Regions from separate parts of the Homo sapiens genome. Here regions 1 and 3 are each linked to region 2. The links are contacts of gene promoters, found by promoter capture Hi-C in human tissues and cell types (Jung and others, 2019). All regions are on one chromosome and are shown on one strand. The core of a region is centred on a gene start or on the middle of the fragment in contact, and the rest is flanking DNA. Distances in the headings are between cores, read along the strand shown.

Region 1 (4,256 bases), core at 880-3,379, 1.3 Mb before region 2:
CACCAACATATTTACAAACGAGTGAACTGTGACCTAAGAAAAGAAGTGATATTTCTAAGAGACATAGCCAAGGGACAGTGGCAGAGCAGGTCCTATATTCTGATCCATTTACTAATCTCATCCAGGGCTTATCCATTTATTTATCGTTTAACAAATACTTATTGAGCATCTACTTTGTGCTCCCTTGGCAGGTGTTCTTACATTTCAGCTCTTAGCCCTTAATGCAAATGTAGGCTTAGATCCTTATCTTTTGCAAAGGATCAGTGTCATTGGGTAGGTCCTGAGACAAATTTGTTTTAATTTCCTGGACTGTGCCATTGAATGCTTGCCCTGTAGCAGGAACTGTCTTCATCACTTTATGAATCTGTAGTGGTCAAGACCATAGACTCTGGAGCTAGAAAACTTGAGTCTCAATCTTTGCTTTGACTTACTAACCACAAGCAAGTTATTCAAGCTCCCTGTAATTGTGTTTTCTCATGTCAAAAATGGAGATAATAATAAGTACTATTTACTTCATAATGTTGTTTTACTGATTAAATTTAAAAGCCCTTAAAAGAATGTCTGGTGCTTCATAAATGTCAGTTATTATCATTTGAAATTTAATCTTCATAACAATCCTATAAAGTGAATATGATTGGTATCTCCATTTTATGGAACAAATTGTCTGGGTCTAGATCATGCCTCTGCTACTGATTGGCTATGTGATCTTACGCCTCAGTTTCTCAAGCATGAAATGGGATAGTAATCAAACATACAGTGTAGTCATAATAATTAAATTTAAAATGCACCAAAGTGCCTAGAACAAGGTAATTGTCAATGAACGTTATTCGTCATCATCATCATCGTCATCATCATCATCATTGTAATCATCTTTATCATTGCCATGTGCAAAGGCCAAGGATAATGGAGAGTAGCATAAAATTTGAAGATGTGAAGATCTCTACTTGAACCTGTACAGCTAATGGATACTACTCTCTACACCCACACATCCAACTATTTATATCTCACCAGCACCTCATTTACAATATTGTCATAAGCAGACTCCTGATTTCTCCCTTCTTCCCTGTTTCTTCCTCAGGGAGCTCTATGCCAGGGAATGATACCACCTTAAGGAGTGCCATATCCCCACGCATATGTGCCAAGTACCCCAGCGTCTCTCACCCTAGAGGCCTGCTCCATCCCCACACCTGCTTGGGTTGATTTCCTCTTTCTTGAATGCCCTCACTCCTCTCTGCCTTCACTGCCTCCTCACTGGTCCAAGCTACCATTACCTCTCATGGGACAGTTGCAGTAGATTTTGAAAGTGCCTCTGCTCACCTATTTATTTCCTTCTCCAATGTTTTCTCCACACTTTAGCCAAAGAGATTTATGTAAAATGCAAATTTCATCATTTCACACCCTTCTTTTCTGCTCACTCCACCCTAACCACATCCTTAAAACCTATACACACACTTGAAGCCATCCCAGTGTTGGGATGAGAAAGGCCACATTCCTGAGCATGGCCCATCTCAAGGAAGATTCTGTGGTGCAGGCTTCCATCTCCCTCTCCTGTCTTACCCTGAGGCTCACTGGCCTTCCCTTCCACCAGTGTCATCCTGTCTCTCACCCCTGGGCCTTTGCACATGCTGCTTCCTGTCAAGTACAGCCCTGATCCCACCAACCTTCCTTAGTTAACTCTTACTCAACTTTCAGGTCTTAGGAAAGCAGACGTGAATTTTCTTCAGCTACAACACTTGGAAATAAGAAATGGCACAATATTTATTTAAGAAAATTGGACTTTAAGTCCTGGTTCACCAGGAGGCAAAAAATTTCATTTCTATTGTTTTTTCTTTGTACATGTGTGTGAACAGGGGTTAGGGAGTGTCCAGGGTCTCTGGTCTTTAGAACACCAAGGTCCTTGCTGCAATGTGAACTGTCCTAACTCAGAAGGTTCACTGCTCTGTGCTGTGCTTTGCAAGGGAGTCAGTGCTGAAGGTGGGAGCCTTCATGTCTCTGCCAGCCCCTGGGCCCACTGGCTTGCTGTTTACCCATGAATATTAGGTTGTCATACCTCCCTATGGGACTGCAAAGAAGGAGTGCAGCTATCTTTTACTGCCAACAACCACGCAAACTCCATCTTTTCCTAATACTGTGCTTCCCTCTCCCAGTGAGCTGTTTCTGTTTCTACTTCTCCAAGCCCTTCCTTTGGGCTCCAGCTCCTCCAGAGTGACTCATTTGGAAATACAGGGAATACCTGGATATAATATTATAGAAGAGGAAGGAGATGCTGACACCAGTTTTTCTTAATAACTCACCCAGTTACATCACTTAAAAAGAAAAAACGATTCTTAACCATTTTTATGCCAAAGATGCCTTTGGCAATTTGACAAAGCCCATGGATCCCCTTCCCAGGATAATGTTTAAATCCATAAAAGATGCAGGATTGCAATTCAATTAAAGTAAGTTCTCAAACATGCTTAAAATGTGTAGTGTCTCATATATGGGCCTCTTGAAGTCATTAAATATCAGGATCTCATGGTAGGTTTAATAATTAACACAGGCATATTTTGTTTTACTAAGCTTTATTTTATTGCGTTTTTTACAAATTGAAGATTTGTAGTAACCCTGTGCCGAGCAAGTCCATTGCGCCATTTTTCCAATAGAATGTGCTCATTTTGCCAGGTGTGGTGGCTAACACCTGTAATCCCAGCACTTTGGGCGGTGGAGGTGGGTGGATTGCCTGAGGTCAGGAGTTCAAGACCAGCCTGGCTAACATGGTGAAATGCCGTCTCTACTAAAATACAAAAATTAGATGGTCATGGTGGCATGCACCTGTAATCCCAGCTACTCAGTAGGCTGAGGCAGGAGAATTGCTTGAGCCTGGGAGGCAGAAGTTGCAGTGAGCTGAGATCGCACCACTGTACTCCAGCCCATGCGACAGAGTGAGACTCTGTCAAAAAAAAAAAAAAAAAAAAAAAAAAAAAAAAAAAAAGAAATAATGTGCTCATTTTATGTCTTTGTGTCACATTTTGATAATTATTACAGTATTTCAAAATTTTTCATTTGTGATCAGTGATCTTTGATGTCATTATTATAATTGTTTTGGGGCACCACAAATCTCACTCATATAAGATGGTGAACTTAATTGATAAATGTCGTGTGTGTTCTGACTGTTCTACTCACTGACTCTTCCCCCACCTCCCTCCCCCTCCTCTTCTCTCTCCCCTCATGGGTCCCTATTCCCTGAGATATATATATATATATATATATACACACACACATATATATATGTAACATATGTATGTAACATAGATATAAATATAAATATATATATAAATCTATATATCTATATATTGAAATTAGGGCAATTAATAACCGTACAATGGCCTCTAAGTATTCAAGTGAAAGGAAGAGTCACACATCTCACACTTAAGTAAAAAACTAGAAATAATTAAGCTTAGTGAGAAAGGTCATGTTGAAAGTCCAGGCAGGCTGAAAACAAAACCTCTTGTGCCAAACTGTTAGGCCAAGTTGTCAATGCAAAGGAAAAGTTTATGAAGGAAATTAAAAGTGCTACTCCAGTGAACCCACAAATGATTAAAAAAAAAAAGCAAAACAGCCTTATTGCTGATATGGAGAAAGCTTGAATGATCCAGATGAAAGATCAAACCGGCTGTTAACATTCCCTTAAGCCAAACCCTAGTCCAAAGCAAGACCCTAACTCTCTTTAGATCTATGAAGGCTGAGAGAAGTGAGAAAGCTGCAGAAGAAAAGTCTGAAGCTAGCAGAGGTGGGTTCATGAGGTTTAAGAAAAGAAACCACTTCTATCTACTTTTAGTTTATGAAAGAAGGTGAAGCAGTACAAGGTGACACACAGCAAATGCTGATGAAGAAGCTACACTGTTACCCAGAAGATCTAGCCAAGACAACTGATGAGGGTGTCTACACTAAACAACAGATTTGCCACATAGACAAAATAACCTTGTATTAGAAGAAGATGCCAAAGATGCCTCTAGGACTTTCATAGCTAGAGAGGAGAAGTCAATGCCTGGCTTCAGAGCTTCAAAGGACAGGTTGACTCTCTTGTCAGGGGCTAATGCACCTGGTGACTTTAGGTTGAAGCCAAGGCTCATCTACCACTCTTAAAATCCTAGGGTCCTTAAATCATGCTAAATCTACCCTGAGCTCTATAAGTGGAAGAACAAATCCTGGATGACAGCGCATCTGCTTATAGCATAGTTAACTGAATATTTTAAGCCCACAGTTAAGATCTATTG
Region 2 (4,163 bases), core at 1,311-3,810:
ATCCACCTGCCTGGGCCTCCCAAAGTGCTGGGATTACAGGTGTGAGCCACAGTGCCTGGCCCAACTCACTTCTTTTAGCTGTTTCTGATAAGGTGCAGAAAGAAAGAGAGAAAATAATTCTTTATTTTTTTAAAAGCAGAATCAAGAGCAAACATTTCCATGCCAGGATTTGTTGGGTTTGAAAATAAAACTGTCATTGTTAGTCTTTCCAAAGAATATCAAAAAAGAAATAGTCTCAAGGCAATGATCGAGTCCAGAGTGCTGCCAGTAAAACATGTTCACAAGGTCAAGATTTCAGGGATGTGGCTGTAAGACTGTATGTGTGTGTGTGTGTGTGTGTGTGTGTGTGTGTGTGTGTGTGTGTGTGTGAGAGAGAGAATATTATCTAAAATATATAAAAATCTCCCATAAGAAATAAATAAGCAGCTCAATAGAAAGTATCAAGTATCTGGACAGGAAAATCACAGAAAAAAATATAAATGGCAAATAAACATATACAAGATGCTTAGACTCACTGATACTGAGGGAACAATTAGATGCTCTTTTTTCTCTTAAGTAAAAAAGTTGAAAATATTCAGCATTCAAGAGATTGTGGGAAAGCATCCCCTCTGATAGACTGATGATGGGAGAGTAAAATGGCACAACTATTTTGGAGTATATATGGAATACCTGGAATTTGGAAAAATCAAAACTTAAAATATGCATAATTCTCCCTTTTACTCAGCAGTTTCATCACTAGAAATCTATCCTACAGAAATACTCCCATATGTACACACAATGTATGTATGAAGATTTTCATTGCATCATGTTTCTCCCAACTAAGGTGAAAATTTCATGAGTGAGAACTTCGTCATTCACTCTTGTGTCATCAGTAGCTAGATCACTGTCTGGAACATAGTGGGTGCTCAACAGATACTTGTTGGATGAATGAATGGGATTGAAAAATTGGAAACAAGCTAATTTCCTGTCAATAGGAAATGGTTACATCTAGTTTATGAAATACTATGGGCTGTCAAAAGAAATGAGATAGATCTTTATGTACTCACATTGAAAGATCTTCAAGACCAGTGTTACTTTTTTTTTTTTTAATGAGGTTGCTTTCTAACATTACCATTTCATTTTGGATTTCACTTCATACTTTACAATACAGCCTGGAGGAACGCCTCAACTTCTAGTTTCTCTCTCCATTAAGTATCTAATTATGTGTAAATAGAACAACTAACGGGACGCTGGGAAGCCCAGGAGGCAAACATTTTGCAACCGGAACTGTTGAGTGTGCTCGGAGAGGCGAGGGAGGTCTATTTGCTCGTTTCCTCGGATTGCTTAAATGCGGGATTTTGCTATCCCAAAGCACAGAGTGTAAAGTAGCAGCTCCCCCTGCCTGCCTTCCCGGCTTCTTCTGTTTTACAAGCAACGATAATTTCCCGGTGAAAGCGAGGCCTGGGAATCAAATCCAAAAAGTGGTTGTTCCCTTTAGGAGAGGTTAGTAGCTGGAAAGGAGCATGAGAAAACTGGAAGGTCCCATAGACTAATGTGTTTTTTTTCCAAGGTTTGTACAGATTCACCGAGTTGCTGCGCCTTATCATCTAAGTAATGTCTCGGTTTTAGAAGTTGACATTGTTTTGTTAATTACTTCTCTGGTCACATGCATTTCAGGCCGCGCAAAAAGAATCGGAGTGCTGCTTTATATAAATGAATAAAACTAAGTTCCGTGGTTTGGCCCTTCTACACCCTCCTCCCCTACCACAGGCTTTGCAAACCACTTAAGTGTCCTCTGTAACCGTCCGGGGGCACTTTCGGGTCAGAGACAGCGGGCGGAAACCGCAGAAAAAGTTGAAAATGTCAGCGACACCCTGCATCTGCGAGTTCTATTCCGTCCCTGAAGCGGTGAAGCGGGCTGAGCGCGCCGAGGGTGGGCTGCAGCCCGGCGAGGGGCTGGGCTCAGGGCACCTTGCCCAGAAGGCGGGCATCGGTGCCAAGTGTTCACCGGCTACGCAGCAGAGCCACCGAGCAGCGCCCCCCCCCGCCTCCCGCGGGCACGCTCGGTGCCAAGGCCAGCTGCTCCTGAAAGCGGCCCGCGGAGCCCCGAGCCCGGGACTCCCTACTCAGCACCACCCGGCGGGCTCTCGGCTGACCCGCCACGGAAGATGCCCGGTTCCGGGCGATCCGGGCGGCTTCCCTGCGCGCGGGGCCCTGCTGTCCCCGCAGTGCCCACCGGTGCGCCTTAGTCGCCAACCCACCTCATCTCAGGATGAATTTCAGTGTACTTGACGCATCGCGCCAGGACGGTCTCGGGAAAGCGCTTGGTGGTGCCCGGACCGCTCCACTGCTGGCGCCACCTCGGGACGACCACCGCGAGCACCACGACGAGGATCAGGACCAGGATACTGACGCCAAGACAGAGTTGGGCTCTCCTAGAGAGCCGGCAGCAGGGTTTGTCCCCGGACACCGGGCTGAACTCGCAGTTGGCCATAGGGCTCCAGGCGGGGTTGGCTGGGCGAAGATGAGGCCGGCAGGAGGCTAGGCAGCAAGAGAGAGGCTGGCTGGGTTCTGAAACTGCACCTCCCCTTCTGTTTCACTTGCCTTTTCTCTGTTTCCCTTCCCACCCCCAACCCCTTGCCTCAGAGTTCCGTGGCTGGTTACACCAATAAGAGTTTAAAAGACCAACAACTATAGGCTCCTGTGCAGTGACCCACCCACTCCACCTCCAGGGAGAAACAGCCACCTTAATCCTCTGCAGGTGTCCTAAGGGGGCAGACAGTACATCCTTATACTCCCTCCGCTAACTCCCTTCATCAACCGGGCACTTTACACCTGAGCCACATTTGCTTCCTGGAAAGCATGAGGGTGGGCTGCCTGCTTCTATACGTGTGTGCACACAATGCCCTCTGCCTGGAAAAGGATGTCCTACCTCTCTTTCTTAACTCTGACAAATGCCTGGTCAACCACCTTTAAAGACTCAACTTAAGTCTGACTCCTTCTCTCAAGAGGCATCAGTGGCTAAGCTCTGGGTTCAAATTTAGTTCTTGCTGGATGACATGGGGCAAGTTACTTAACCTCTCTGTACTTCAGATGTAAAGCCGGGATAGTAGCAGTACCTACTTCATGGGATTGTTACGAGGATTAAGTGAGTTAATATCTACAACGTGTTTAGCACAATACCTGGCACATGGTAATCACCCAGTAAATGTAAGTTGTTACTACCAGCTCTAGGAGCTGCTCAGAGATGCAATTTTATAGTCCATGGAATGTGTTTGAAGCAGGGTCTGGCACACAGTAATAATACTGCACTCTATGCGGGAGTTTAATAAATAATAAAGTGGCTTTTCTTGCCTCTTCTTTATTAAGAGAACATCTGTGACATTCAAGCAGAGACCTAAGTAATGTGAGCGATCAAGTCACCCAACTCCCTTGGGGCAAACATTTCCCAAGCAGAGGAAATGGCAGGTGCAAAGACTCTGAGGCAGAAAAGCTCTTGGCCTGTTCCAGAGCAGCAAGGAGGCCAATTGTAGTTAGGCTAGAGGGTTGAGGGAAACAGAACAGAAGTTCGGAAAGTAGCAGGAGACCAGATCACCCATAGCTCTGTAAGACAGGATGACTTTTTGGACTGTGTGTTTTATTTATTTTTTATCTTTTTTATTTTGTTTTAAGTTCTGGGATACATGTACAGGACGTGCAGAGTTGTTACATAGGTAAATGTGTGCCATGGTGGTTTGCTGCACCTATCAATCCATTGCTTAGGTATTAAGCCCCTCATGTTTTAGCTATTCTTTCTGATGCTCTCCCTCCCTCCACTCTCCCCAACAGGCCCCAGTGTGTGTTGTTCCCCTCCCTGTGTTCATTGTTCAGCTCCCACTTATAAGTGAGAACATGCAGTGCTTGGTTTTCTGTTCCTGTGTTAGTTTGCTGAGGATAATGGCTTCCAGCTCCATCCATGTCCCTGCAAAGGACATGATCTCGTTCCTTTTTGTGGCTGCACAGTATTCCCTGGTGTATATGTACCACATTGTCTTTATCCAGTCTGTCATTGATGGGCATTTGGGTTGATTCCATGTCATTGCTATTGTGAATAGTGCTACAATGAACATATGCATGCATGTATCTTTATAACAGAATGATTTATATTCCTTTGGGTATATACCCAGTAATGAGATTGCTGGGTC
Region 3 (4,552 bases), core at 508-3,007, 1.6 Mb after region 2:
TTTGGTTTCTGACTCATACAGAGTCAGCAAAACACTCAAATCCTATGATTCTCACGTCCCCATACCTTGCACTGTCTGCCAGTCTTGGAAGCTGCGTTCTCCATATTTACATAGTGATTTGTCACTCTCTCTATTAAAAAGTTCCCTTTTATCTGAATTAACAGCGTAATTGTCCCAGCTCACCACTTCCAAAGTAACTCCAATAAATAGAAACCACAACATTTGGAAATCACCTCCAGCCCCCACTGTGCAAGCCTTACCCGGAAATCTCCGGCAGCTGCATGTTTTCCTAATGACCTTCAGTTGCTCAGAGAATGTATAATTCATTCCCTACCTATCTTCACTAATCCCACTTTCCTAAAATAAATATTAACTCAACTTATCTGCTAAAACAAGCCCAAATCAAGTCTCTTATCAAATGAACTCAGAGGCAGAACAGAAAGGTGAGAGTCTGGTCAATAGGAAATTGCCTTCATTGGAAAGGCAGGGCTAAAACTCCCTTTGGCCTTCAGTTTTATTCAATCTAGTTCAGCAAACCTTTATTGAATACTCTATATGCAGGCACCAACAGTTCCATAGAGGACAGAAAATTGGATTCAAAGTTAGGAGGCCTGATATCAAAAGAATTGGATTCAAACTCTATCTTTACTCTTGACCAATTGTGAACATCAGGAAAGTCACTCTGAGGCTCAGTTGAGCTGTGATAATAACATCATTACTATTACCAGAATCCCTCAACACCCTCACTGCCTCCCTAATAGACATAGCTTTTAGTAAACACTCTCTGAATTTGCCAATGATAAGAGAGTGAGTGTCTTGTGGAATATGAAAAAAATTGACATCTTCATGCATGGATGGATCATGAGAGTGGATGTTGAAATGATTCTACCTCAATTCAAAGGAGAAAGTTGTTTGTTTTATTTCATGAAAATGTATAAGTGTCATTGACCATTGGAATATCTTTCATAATCCAATTTTATTTTAGCCCACTTCAGTCCTAGTACTCTAACAACCCACTTGCTTGCTGCTAGCACATAAAACTGGAAGATCATGCCAAGAAATGTGACCTGAACCTCAAATTCAGAGGCTTATGCTCCCACGGAACCAATCTGGTGATGTTGCCTTTTTGTTTGAGCTTCCTTCTGCCTTAGGCCAACTGGATCATCCTGGCACCAGGGATGCTATGTTGAGCCATAAATACCTGACCCATTTTCTAGCAGCAACAGGCAAGGGGAGAACCAAGATGACATAGATGACACATGGGGAATGGTTCCAGTTTTGTCCTGCTAAACCACAACTACAAAGGTAATTTTAAAATGTTCTATGAGAAAAGGGCATGCGGGATTCCCTGTGTTGAGCTTCATCCCAGTGAATTACACTGTCTGAACAGATAATAAATATTTTCAGATAAACAAAAGGAGTGGGAATAGCAAGCAGAATACTAGGAAAGCTTTAAGACAACTGCTGATTGACCTGTACCTTCAACCTGGCTACTCAATATTGTTCCCAATGTGTGGATTCCCCTTGTATCACCCTACCTAATAAAATTCTCTCCTGTTTCCTCCACAGGGAGGTGATGAACAACTTAGCAAATGTTTGTGAAAGGGCAAGGTAGATTGTCAAATCCTGAAAATGCCAGCTATCAGTGGCATTCTTAGCAACTGGGATAGATGCTATAAGGGGTAGAAGATAAAAATCTCATGACCCCCAGCTCTGTATGAGTGAGAGCCAGTGAAAACTGGCAATAGGATCTCCAACAAGAAAAATCACTGAGCATTGTGCAAGAGGATTAATAACAGAAAAAAATGCAAATGTTTAGGAAAATGCCTGTGCTATTAAGAGAGTCAAAACCCAATGGGGTAATTATGGAGAAGAGGATACAAATGTCTTAGAAATCGTCAAGGAAAATCATTTTTTTGCCCTCTGCAGGGACTTACCAATGCATTCTCTGTAAATCATCATTAAACCTGCATGGGCCTAATGAGGTAACTCCACATCATCCAGTTGTTAAACAAACAAAAAGGTCTGCTCCCACTTTCCAAAGAGCTCTCCAGCCCACACACCTTTACTTGAGTTCAAATTTAGGAATTAAATACTCTCACTTCTTGTACCAGACTGTATTCAAATCTTTGATTTATGGAGTTGGGAACCAAGAGGTAAAAAGAGAGGGTATATTAATAGTTTATTTTTCTCATTGGCATCTATTCAGTAATGCTGTTTTTCATAAAGAGAATATAAACTGGAAACACATTTCACTGTTCTAAACACTTGGGGGATAAAACAACATAGTAGAAAAAAATAGTAAAAATGCTAGAATGAAAAAGACGAAATTGTGTAGGTGTGTCTCATGTTATAGGTTTTTGCCTCTTCATTATTCACTGTTAATTTTTAAATATATTTTGATAGCATAGGAATAAACTAACTCCTATTAGTTTATTTTTTTGTTCTAAAAATCTTTGATAGACTGTATGTGACCCAGGAGTTTCAAGTTGGCTTTCTGCTGCTGGAGTGTACCATTCCTGTATATTCTAAGGGGCACTATATATGGAAAGACACAAAAATGGAAAGTACCACCTTGAGACAATGGGTACTTGAAATGTATTATTTTAAAAATACTCCCCAAAAGTTTTCAGAAGTGGACAATCAGACTATATGATGAGTGTGGCCACTTGGATTCTTAAATTAATAACACTGGTGTATGAAATTTTACTCCTGAAATCCTAGTAATGCACAAAAAACAAAAGACAAAGGAACATGAAGGTTTTATCCAAGACCATTTTTCTTATGTTAGGAAGCTTTTACAAGGCCTCAGTCTCATGATGTAAATTCAGCAGAATGAAAGACTTTTAGATACAGTGAATTCAGCCAGGACTCCTGTCCTTGCCCCTCCCTTGCTTCTTTCTCAAGGAATAGAAACCATTTCCTCTTGGGCCTTTGTCAGGAAATGCAGATGACTAACCAAGCAGGAAGTGCCTCTACCTTTGACATTTTACTTCTGACACCCCGGTTACAGAGATAACAACAGCTGCTACTCTGTCAAAATGCATAAAAGCTAAGTCTTCTCCAAATCACCAAATAGCAAAAATTACAATTTTAATTCTACTTGCATGACCCATTTATTTAGGCCACTTTTTCCCTACTAGTTTATTTTTTGTTGTTCTAAAAATTTTTGGTGGACCTCATTTGTCACAGAAGTTTCAAGCTGGCTTTCTGCTGCTAGAAAGCAGTGTACGTCGAAAGGGGTGGTATGGATGGCAAGTCACAAAGATAGAAACTACCACCTTGAGACCAGTGGGTACCTGAAATGGCATTAATTTGAATGTTTCAGTTCTGCCTAAATGCTTAGTCAAAGCCTGCATACTGGAAAGACGGCATTCAGAAAAAAATGACAAAGGAGACCAAGACTACACTGGTGTGCTGAAACCAGCTCACACTGGGTCACACAGGCAAGCAAGACCAATTGAATGCAGCTCTTCCCAATTCCTTGTTCAGTGACTTCTTGATGTTAGCTAGAAATGAGCCATGTGAAAGTATTCACACCATGGAGATCAGTAAACATCACAAATTAGAGGGTTTTGTTTTGTCCCAGAAAGTCAGTTGTTAAATTTTTACTAGCACAGGACTTCCCTGGCTAAAGGCCTGAGGAAAGTCCATGTTTAAAGAACCATCTGGCTCTCCAAAGCCTTAGAAAGGCCTCTTCTTTCTTGTGATTTCTCAAAGAAGTGCCAGCAAGAAAGGAAGATCCATCCTGTGACTGTTTTTCTTTCCATGCTCTAAAACAACCAAAACTAGAGTTCTGGCCAATTACCTCCTCTCTTTGCTTTGTGTGGTGTATAAACTTCAAAGTGGTTAAATTCCTTTAGCCATACAACTTTTTACACCTTTAATTGTGCTACAATCTGGCCTGTCAAGTTCTGGAATCATTCTGTGAAGACAGTATTTAAATTTTCCTTTTCTTCTGCTTTACCTATCAGGCCCTAACTTTCATTCCTTTCTAAGCAAAGCTTCCCCAAATTGGTTTTCTCTCCTGCTCCACTGACTCACCTTCCATCCCTCCTTACTCCCAGAGGTCAGCCTGCCTCAGTTTGAGCCTCTGATGCTAGTCAATAATTGTTGCTTCTCCCTGGGGCCATGGCTGGCCCATATCCTCTTCTTTCTCTCTTTTGGGAGTTATGTCCCTAAAATTCTTCCCTTACCAGCACAGCTATTCTAAGCTGTGAGTCTCAGCCTACATTTCTGAATGATCTTCTCTCCCTTCTTGATTGGGTTGTTTTTCTACCCCAAGTCCCTAAATGCAAGGCTTTTCAAGGAGTCTGAGATGAGGATCAGCCATTGAATCCACATGGAAATCTCTTTTATAAAAATCAATGTTTGTATTTGTAAATATGATATTCTGTATTCTTTACAGATCCTTTTAAAGTAAGAAATGTTATGTGGAACAACAATTTCCACTGATGACCTCTCCAGTGTCCTCGGTTTCCCAACGTATCATATAGCAGCGGTTCTCAAACAGGGATAATTTGCCCCTGAAGGGACATTTGACAAAGTTGGC

What was found. The method cuts DNA at HindIII sites, captures the fragments that hold promoters and counts their contacts. A contact is called where the count stands out against the background at its distance.
Region 1: a contact is called between a fragment that was not itself captured here and the fragment with the promoter of CD38 in region 2, in 1 of the 25 tissues and cell types used here (H1 embryonic stem cells).
Region 3: a fragment that was not itself captured here is called in contact with the fragment with the promoter of CD38 in region 2 in 1 of the 25 tissues and cell types used here (lymphoblastoid cells).

Annotation. Positions count from the first base shown.
Region 1 is chr4:17,050,092-17,054,347 of GRCh38, reverse strand. No RefSeq gene overlaps it. Among named protein-coding and RNA genes, the nearest start is that of LINC02493, 130 kb to the left of the region's middle. The HindIII fragment of the contact is 6,550 bases long and covers 1-4,256 here.
Region 2 is chr4:15,776,725-15,780,887 of GRCh38, reverse strand. CD38 (CD38 molecule) reads right to left here and starts at 2,560. Exons shown (of 8, transcript NM_001775.4): 1 at 2,241-2,560. The coding sequence starts at 2,473. RefSeq lists silencers at 1,802-1,851, 2,042-2,091 and enhancers at 2,222-2,721, 2,133-2,775. The HindIII fragment of the contact is 9,174 bases long and covers 1-4,163 here.
Region 3 is chr4:14,176,991-14,181,542 of GRCh38, reverse strand. The region is part of intron 1 of LOC124900670 (a long non-coding RNA gene); the gene reads right to left. Among named protein-coding and RNA genes, the nearest start is that of LINC01085, 67 kb to the right of the region's middle. RefSeq lists an enhancer at 2,744-3,038. The HindIII fragment of the contact is 3,286 bases long and covers 115-3,400 here.